Linked DNA regions of Homo sapiens: regions 2 and 3 are each linked to region 1. Evidence: promoter capture Hi-C in 16 types of primary human blood cells and fetal thymus (Javierre and others, 2016). All regions are on one chromosome and are shown on one strand. The core of a region is centred on a gene start or on the middle of the fragment in contact, and the rest is flanking DNA. Distances in the headings are between cores, read along the strand shown.

Evidence for each region. Contacts are between HindIII fragments. The CHiCAGO score rates a contact against its expected background, and 5 or more counts as called.
Region 2: a contact is called between a fragment that was not itself captured here and the fragment with the promoter of PIP5K1B in region 1, in 2 of 17 cell types (total B cells and naive B cells). The highest score is 10.9, in total B cells.
Region 3: a contact is called between a fragment that was not itself captured here and the fragment with the promoter of PIP5K1B in region 1, in 4 of 17 cell types (total B cells, naive B cells, erythroblasts and 1 more). The highest score is 12.3, in total B cells.

What each region holds. Positions count from the first base shown.
Region 1 is chr9:68,703,970-68,706,669 of GRCh38, forward strand. PIP5K1B (phosphatidylinositol-4-phosphate 5-kinase type 1 beta) reads left to right here and starts at 1,271. Exons shown (of 16, transcript NM_003558.4): 1 at 1,271-1,793. RefSeq lists enhancers at 785-1,710, 2,399-2,488 and a silencer at 1,129-1,648. The HindIII fragment of the contact is 6,803 bases long and covers 1-2,700 here.
Region 2 is chr9:68,648,963-68,651,748 of GRCh38, forward strand. No RefSeq gene overlaps it. Among named protein-coding and RNA genes, the nearest start is that of PIP5K1B, 55 kb to the right of the region's middle. The HindIII fragment of the contact is 5,031 bases long and covers 1-2,786 here.
Region 3 is chr9:68,764,641-68,767,513 of GRCh38, forward strand. All of the region lies in intron 2 of PIP5K1B (phosphatidylinositol-4-phosphate 5-kinase type 1 beta), which reads left to right. Among named protein-coding and RNA genes, the nearest start is that of PABIR1, 14 kb to the right of the region's middle. The HindIII fragment of the contact is 2,928 bases long and covers 114-2,873 here.

The DNA.
Region 1 (2,700 bases), core at 21-2,520:
ACCAGACCCAAGTCACAGGGTTCTAAACAAACCATACCTTAAATCTCTCAGTAATGGCCAGCCACATCTGCAAGAAGCAGGCTGGGAAAACAGCTGAAGAATAACAGATATTTGTTTTATTTGTCAATTATGGCTCAGTAAAGCTAAAAAAAAATAGATACTTCTGTTATCAAGAAATTATTGCACTTGATTCAAGGCTGATATTAAACCATAGCAGACTCACTCAAGGTGGGGGGTGAGAGAAACAAAGAGATTACAAAACTGAAAAGAGGTGTTCATTTGCAGAGAACTAAGGGAGTATCCTTCAAACAGAAACTGGAAGCCAGAGATCTCTGAAGATAAGGATCATGAAATGTTGTTATTCCCCAGACAGAATGTATCCCACGTTTTCCACCGGCGTTGTTTTTGGTAAAGAAGGGTAAGTGGAAGGAAGTGATGAGGCTGAAAAATACCATTTGCTTCAATTCAGCCGCGAAGGATCCGCTACCTTTTGGTTCCTATTAAGTGAATTTAGCTTTAGCTTTCATGATAGCATTTTCCCAAAGGAGTCCTTTAGATCTGACCCCTACCCTCTTCGCAGCTAGACTGACATCAGGTGACGTTGCAAGTGCCCCCAGCCCACTAAGCGCTATCAGTAGGAATTGGCCCTCAGCCCCGTCACAGCGCTTTCCCATGACATCCCCCAGCTTCTCTCTCCTAGGACCTCCTCGCCAGCCTACCCCTACCTGTTGGGTAGGTCTTACTTGCTGGGAACACCTGCTGTCCTTAGAATGGGAGCAACCAACGCCTTGGAATCCTGGCCTGTCCCTTCCTCGTGAAGGGGGCGCCTGCGCTCAAGTGCCGGCTTCGCCGCCTCAGGCAGAGTCTAGCAGGCGGGCGACCAGGCGTAGCTGAGTTCTGTGGCCTGGGGAAAGGGGACGCCCTATCCCCACAGCCCTGTTTCGCAGGGCTTCAAGACGCTGAGAACGGCCGGGAACCCCTGGAGTCTTGGAGGCACCCGCCAATTCCAGGGGCCCACCCCAACCCCGCTCTCAGTCTGGGCCAGCGGCGGCGGGACAGGCGCCCGGTCCCCACACACCGGCTGAGACGCCCAGCCCACTGCGGCTGAAGCTCCGGCCGCTGTTGCGGCAGGTGCTGCAAACCGGTCTGCCTTCGCTGCAGGGCTTGCGGGGATGGGGCAAGTGGGTGGAGAGAAAAGGGGAAGAGCCTGGGCGGCCGGCAGGCGGGGCCTGCAGCCTCCCCAGCCGCGGCAGCCGCCGCGCAGCCGGCTCTCTCTGCGCCTCGCTCCGACTCCGGCGCGCACCAAGCGGGAACCCGCGCCCGAGCCCGGCGGGCGCCGCTGCTGCTCCTCTCGGTCCCCGGTTCCCGGTCCCCGAACGCGCCGCGGCGAGGCTGCGCCCGGCAGTGGAGCCGCTCGGAGCTGCTGGGCTTTGGCGGCCGCTCGCTGCTCCGTCTGGCCGGAGGACCGGCGGGGAAGGAAGGGGAAAGCGGGGACACACACACTCGCCGCGGCGCGCGCGCACTGCACACTCGTAGCCGCGCGCCCCCGCCAAGGCGCGTCCGGAGCGAGTTTGGCCCCGCGGCTCCAGCCCCGGCACCTGCCCGCCCTCAGCGTTGCCCCCGGCCCCGGCCCCGCCCGCCGCCCCCTCCGCCCTCCCGCCCCTCCCGCCCCTCCCGCCCCTCGCCTGCACTGCTCTCCCTTCGCTGTGGGGAAGCGACAACGTCCCGATAACTTGCAGACTGTGGCGCAACTGGTCTTGGTAGCGGAGGCACCCGAATGCTGCCCGGGTGAGGTAAGTTTCCTGTGCGTCCCCGGCCCCTTCCCACTAGACCCTTCTGAGGGGCTTGCGCTTAGGGGCTCTGCATCTCTGCTGAAACCCGTCGGTCTCTCTACCCTTCCACTTTGCCTGTCTGCGTTGTGCTGGGGGTGACGTGGAGAGGGCGCCCGTGGCCACCGAAGCGGACCTTCGTTCCGCGGGGGCCACAGCTGCGCGCTCCCAACGGACACCCACCCGCTCGTCACCCGGATCCCCGGGGCCGCAGTGACACTCGGAGATCACTCTGGGTTCACTTAAATAGGAGTACTCTCCCCTTTTCCGGGGAACCTGCAGAGTTTGGCAGCGGAAGGAAAGGTCTCCCACCACCCTCCCCCGGTACGAAACAGCGGTGAACTTGTTAGGCGCCCTGGTATCTCAAGAGGGGCTTGCGAGTTGGTGTTCTGCTCATTTCTGGCGCTGGTGCCGGATTGAACAGGTGCGGTATGGTTCCAGTCTAAATGCAGCAACAGACTTCTGCGTTTCCCAGGCTTTCTCCCCCAGCCTGGTCAACGTGACGCTTCAACATCTGGGGCAGGGGCTGGGAGTGTAGGGGCACTGGGGAGGGAGAATGCCCGGGTTTGATTTACTATGCCGGTGCCAGGAGTCGCCAGAACAGAAGAAAACAAATGTCTGCTTATCTGGCATCTATGCAGATGAGCGTGTTGTCATTTCTTATCCCCCCCAACCCCCAGCTCTCTTGTCTGGTGCCCAGCGTGGCTGAGTAGAAACCTATTCCGGAGAAGTTATTTGGGTAGATTGATTAATTCTTTCATCGAATCTACTGAAATCAGGGCTCCGAACAAGGCAATCCTAGTTACTCTGATGCTTTTTTAAAGGGAGCGTGTTACAGATCAGAAATAACACCCACTATCATCACTACCTC
Region 2 (2,786 bases), core at 129-2,628, 55 kb before region 1:
TCTGTTTCTTTAAGAACCTAGCAGTGGATAAATTTGCTGTTTGGCATTTTTAACAGCAGCCTGCAGAGCATGTCAACAAGGGTATAATTTCCAGCTTACCAAGGGCAACACAGTAGAGTTGTGACTATCCTGAGAGCCACTGAGCCACTGCATATTACCCTATGGGTAATGAGGAAGAGAAGTCATCTAACCTTAGTGGGTAAGCCCTGGTTGTTGTGTGGCCTGCCCAGACCTCTGAACCTGCCCATCTCTCAAGACTATGGATGATAGCAGCAGCTGTGTGTGCTGATGGGTAGCCTGCATTTCAGTTTCTGTCTCAGCAGCTCAAATAGCTCAGCCCAAAAAGCACTAGTCCTCGAAATACAAAGAGCATGAAGAAAGCAGGATGGCATCTCCAGCTCCACTTTATCCCTACTGATGATTTGGAAGGTGAGATGATTTCTTCTGTGATCGTAGCCATCCACCCTCCTGTGAAACCCTTTCCAATCATAAAATCTGCGTATCTCCCAGCTGTGTCCCACCAAGATGCTTGTGTTGTTTTACCTTTTCATCCTCATTTTCTTCCTAAAATGGCTTGGGGAAATTGTTTTATTCCTAAAATATGATTGTGCCTGTTTTCATAATTGATTTTGAAATCTGTTTTGGATGTAAGGTTAAGGGCCAAAATAAAGACTGGTAAGGTTTAACTATCATTTCATCCATTCAACAAATCTTTAGGATAGATAATAGAGAGACACAAAGAAAGAAAAATGTCCTCATTCTTTTTTTTTTTTTTTTTTTTTTAAACAGAGTTTTGCTCTTGTTGCCCAGGCTGGAGTGCAATGGCACAATCTCGACTCACCACAACTTCTGCCTCCCAGATTCAAGCAGTTCTCTTGCCTCAGCCTCCTGAATAGCTGGGATTACAGGTGCCTGCCACCATGCCTGGCTAATTTTGTATTTTTAGTAGAAACAGGGTTTTTCCATGTTGGTCAGGCTGGTCTCAAACTCCCAATCTCAGATGATCTGTCCCCTTCGGCCTCCCAAAGTGCTGGGATTACAGGCATGAGCCACCGCGCCCAGCTGAAAAATGTCCTCATCATTCTTGTTAAGGAAATTTTCTGAAGCCTCACTCTCCTCACCTAAAAACTGAAGGTAATTATAATAACCCCTATCTTTTGCAGTTACTGTTGTAGTTAAAGAAGGTAAAACTATTAAGTTTTTAGCAGAGTATCCAGTGCATTGTAAATACTCGATACAAGCTGGTTGTTACTAAATTAGGTAGAAAGATGATAATACTGGTGTTTCAATAGATAGGCAAAAAGTATTGTTTTATCACAGTTTTGAATAAGGAAGTTCTTACAGAGGAAAGTGTAAAATTTTATTACATTTCCCATTGCCAACATTACTATCCAAATATTTACTTACATTAATCACAGGCCTCTGCTTAAGGTGAATTGCGTATTGCCTATAAGCTAGTATAAGGTGTATTTTTACAGTAATTCTATCTACCACATGTATGATGACCACTGCTACTAAGTAATAATAACTACAATATTCCTCCAGCCCTTGCCATGTACTATGCTCTATTCCTAAATGCTTTACAAGTATGATCTCATTTAACCCTCAAGACCACTCTAGGAAATAAACACTACTTTTCATGGTCCTTTTACATATGAGGAAACAGATACCCAGAGAGTTTAAATGACAAGGAAAACTTCATGAAGGCCAGGCACGGTGACTCACGCCTGTAATCCCAGCACTTTGGGAGGCCGAGGCAGGTGGATTACCTGAGGTCAGAAGTTCAAGAGCAGCCTGGCCAACATATAGTGAAATCCTGTCTCTACTGAAAAATACAAAAATTAGCTGGGTGTGGTGATGCACACCTGTAGTCCCAGCTACTTGGGAAGCTGAGGCAGGAGAATTGCTTGAACCTGGGAGGCAGAGGTTGCAGTGAGCTGAGATCTCACCATTGCACTCCAGCCTGGGCAACAGAGCAAGACTCTGTCTCTCAAAGGAGGAGAAAAAGAAAACTTCATGCAGCTCTTACTACAAACATGTGGGTATACTTTTCAGATATGTGCATGTGAATCTGTCGGGGGAAAATTATCAGGCATGTAAGTGTTTCTAGGTCTTACACCAAAGAGGATGCTGGCCCCACTGTCCCATTTCTTCTCCTTTCCCCATCTAAGGAAGGTCCCAGTTTGCCAGATGGTCTACCATGTTGGACTTTTATGCTGCAAAATTATTAAGAAAGATGGAGGGATGAGAACTGAAGCTACCATGATAATCCCTCTTGCCTCTGATGGTTGCTATTATGGAGTGAGAAGTGTATCCCCATTGTAGTAGGATTCTTATCTACAAAATGGGAGCTACACTATTTGAATTTCATGTGAGGCCCTCAGTACACTTTATCTGTGTTGATCCCATTATGCCACAGCTTTCTCTTTACCTCACTGTCTCCATTTGTGAAATATGATTAAGAATGTGGCGTACCCCACAGGACTGTTGTGAGGAATGACTCATGGTTATGAAGGAGTTTGTACAATGCAACATTCTATTTAGGGCTTCAGTATGTTTTTTATGGTTTTCAAGGACTAATTTTCAAAGCAATATGACAAAGTAGATAGAAACCTTTTCAGAAATGTTGGAGAAAGTGATTACTAATGTTAGTCAATAGTCATCATTTCATCACCTAAAAATAGATGCAACTTTGACCTTTGGTCATGCAGCAAATATAATATTTAAGAACCTGAAGAAAAGGAGAGAAACTTGGGTTAGGGCTGTGGGAGGGGTTTGGGGAGTGA
Region 3 (2,873 bases), core at 328-2,827, 61 kb after region 1:
ACATTCTACCAAGCATTGTAAGCTCAGACAAATTAGGCAATAATTTGTCAAAACAAAAAGTAATAATGCTAGCAAAGACAAAGAATTTATGCTAGTTACAGGTGATAAACTAAAGCTTTCCTCGTCCTCACCTTCATTCTGTGGTCTCTTAACCATAAACATCAATGTAGCAAAGAAAAATTGATTTTGTAATTGATTTTGAAATTGTAATTACCTTGATTTCCTTAGTGATGGTTATTTAAAATACTGAAGCATTTTAAGCTAAATAAAACTAATTTTAAAATAAAACTAATTTTTATTTTAAAAAAAAGTGGAGAAGGCCCATGTAAATTCCCTGCCTTTTAGAACATGCATTCTGAATATTGTTTTAAAGCATTTCAACAAAAATGCTTTGATGGAATGCTACAGTCACTGCTCATTATCTTGAATTCACTTGCAGGTCATTTGTTCTTAACTGTTTTTTTAAAAAAGTGAGTGTTTACATGTTTTTACTCCAAAGGAAATCAGTTACAATTGTTCATAATGGGTGCTTATTTAAAAACGAAAGCTCTGAGAAAAACTGTGCTTCTAATTTTTAATATTTCAAACATTATAGATGTTGGCATTGTGATGAAACAAAACTTGCCACTAGTAACATTTTAATGGTCTTTTCCATGGAGCAGTTGGAGATGAAACTGTGTCATAAAATATTTATTAAAATGCTTATACTTTACTGAAAATTTGAGGGTGTACCTGTGCTGTACTGAATTCTGTGTTCTAGCAAATATTTCATAATGATGCCTAGTACAAATTTTTATTAATGCAACATGGAGAAAATGGTCGTTCTCTTGTCTGAGTTGGATTAAAGCAAAGTTCCAAGCAGAAGTGCCAGAGCTATTTTTAAATGTACAAGGCATGCATTTTTTTCTTTTAACATAAATTCTCCATCAAAATAGGACCTAAGATTTTAAGAAACAAATATAATTTATTATGGCTATTTTGTGTTTAGAGAGATACTAATAGATTAGAGAAAGTGATTTGCCATTTATTGAGAAGGGCCAAAAAGCACATTAAAATATCCAATTTGTTAGTAACTTTTGAAAATGCAAACTTAAAAAAGTGCCACTTTTTGTTATCTAAGTCTAAGGCTAAGAAGAATGATCATACCAAGGTTGAAGTAGAGGTGGAGAACAAGCACTGTCAGATCTGTTGGGAATGACAATTGATGTAGACTTTCTCAAGGGTGATGTGTTTACAAGAAGCCTTGCTATACATATCCTCTGATCTAGCAGTTCCACTGCTGGAAATTTAACCTTAGGAAGTAATTGGACAAGGGGCCAAAAAATAAGACAATGATATTCATGATAGCATTGTTTCTAATCTCAAATATTGGAAACACCTTAAATTTCCATTAGTAGATAATCAAATTATGGCTCTTTTATCCACTGAGTACCTTGTAGCTATATAGAATGATATTGTGTAGGAAAAGATGGCATAATATGGTAAGGAGGTGACAACTTGGTATGTATAATATGGTTAAAAAAGAATGTGCACTAAGACTTGGTGGATATCTATAACAAAATGTTAACAGAGGCTACCACTGGATAATGGATTGCAGGAAACTTTTACTTTGTTTTTTGCTGCTTTTTTTATATATGAAATAAATACATCTCTTATAAGCAAAAACTATTGTTATAAATGTATCTATCTTTGATTTAGCACTTCTACTTTGAATAATCTGTCCAACAAAATGAACGTACAAAGATCTTATATAATGTTCAATGCAGCACTGTTAAAAATAGTTGAAAAAAATTAACCTACCTGCTTATCCCCTATTAGAAATATGTATAAGAAGGTCATGGAATAGCCATACTTCACAGCCATTGAAATTGAAGATGTAAGTCTATATTTACTGATATGGAAAAAGTGTTCACAACAAATATGGAAAGGGCAAGTTAATAAACATTGCATTATGTAGATAGGTAGGTATGTACACAGATAAAAATCTGGAATGCTTTTTATTACAGTGTCAAAAGTAATTGTTTCTGGGTGATGGGATTGTGGGTAATTTTCAACTATTTTTTTCTATGTGTCTGTATTTTAAATTTTTTTACAATAAATAAATATCTCTTTATTACCAAAACAAAGGTAAAAAATCAACAATATCAGATATCAAAAAGGAGAAGTAACCAAAAAATATTGTTAGGTACTACATGAAACACTATGGAGATAGGTGAAGTAAGTGGTATTTCTAGGAAAATTTACTTTATTAAAGTGGTCCCAGGAGAGAGTCAGTAACCATGAAAGAAATAAAAATGTTATCAAAAGATGCTTTCTAAATTCAAAGTGCAGGCCCCCAGATAGCCCAAGTAAATTCTTCAAATAGTCAGGGATATTGATATTAAGTAGGGTAACTATATAGTTTATTGAAGGGAGCTTTAATTGAGAGAACCAGTATAAACTAGAATGCCCCATGTAAACCTGACAGATGGTCACATTACTATTTCAACTTTTTCTAAGTATAGAGCAAAAGACAGACTTTCAAGATTTTTTAAGATACCAAAATGATCTTAGTACCAAAACTTCACAAAGATAGCTGGCATGGGCATGTGCCTGTATGTGCACACACTGCAGATCAATCTTGATGCAAAACCCTTTCATAAAATACCATCAGATAGAATTTAGCAATGCAGTCCGGGCGCTGTGGCTCACGCCTGTAATCCCAGCACTTTGGGAGGCCGAGGCGGGTGGATCACTTAAGGTCAGGAGTTCGAGACCAGCCTGACCAACATGGTGAAACCGCGTCTCTACTAAAAATACAAAAATTAGCCAGGTGTGGTGGTGCACACCTGTAATCCCATCTATTCGGGAGGCTGAGGCAGGGGAATCGCTTG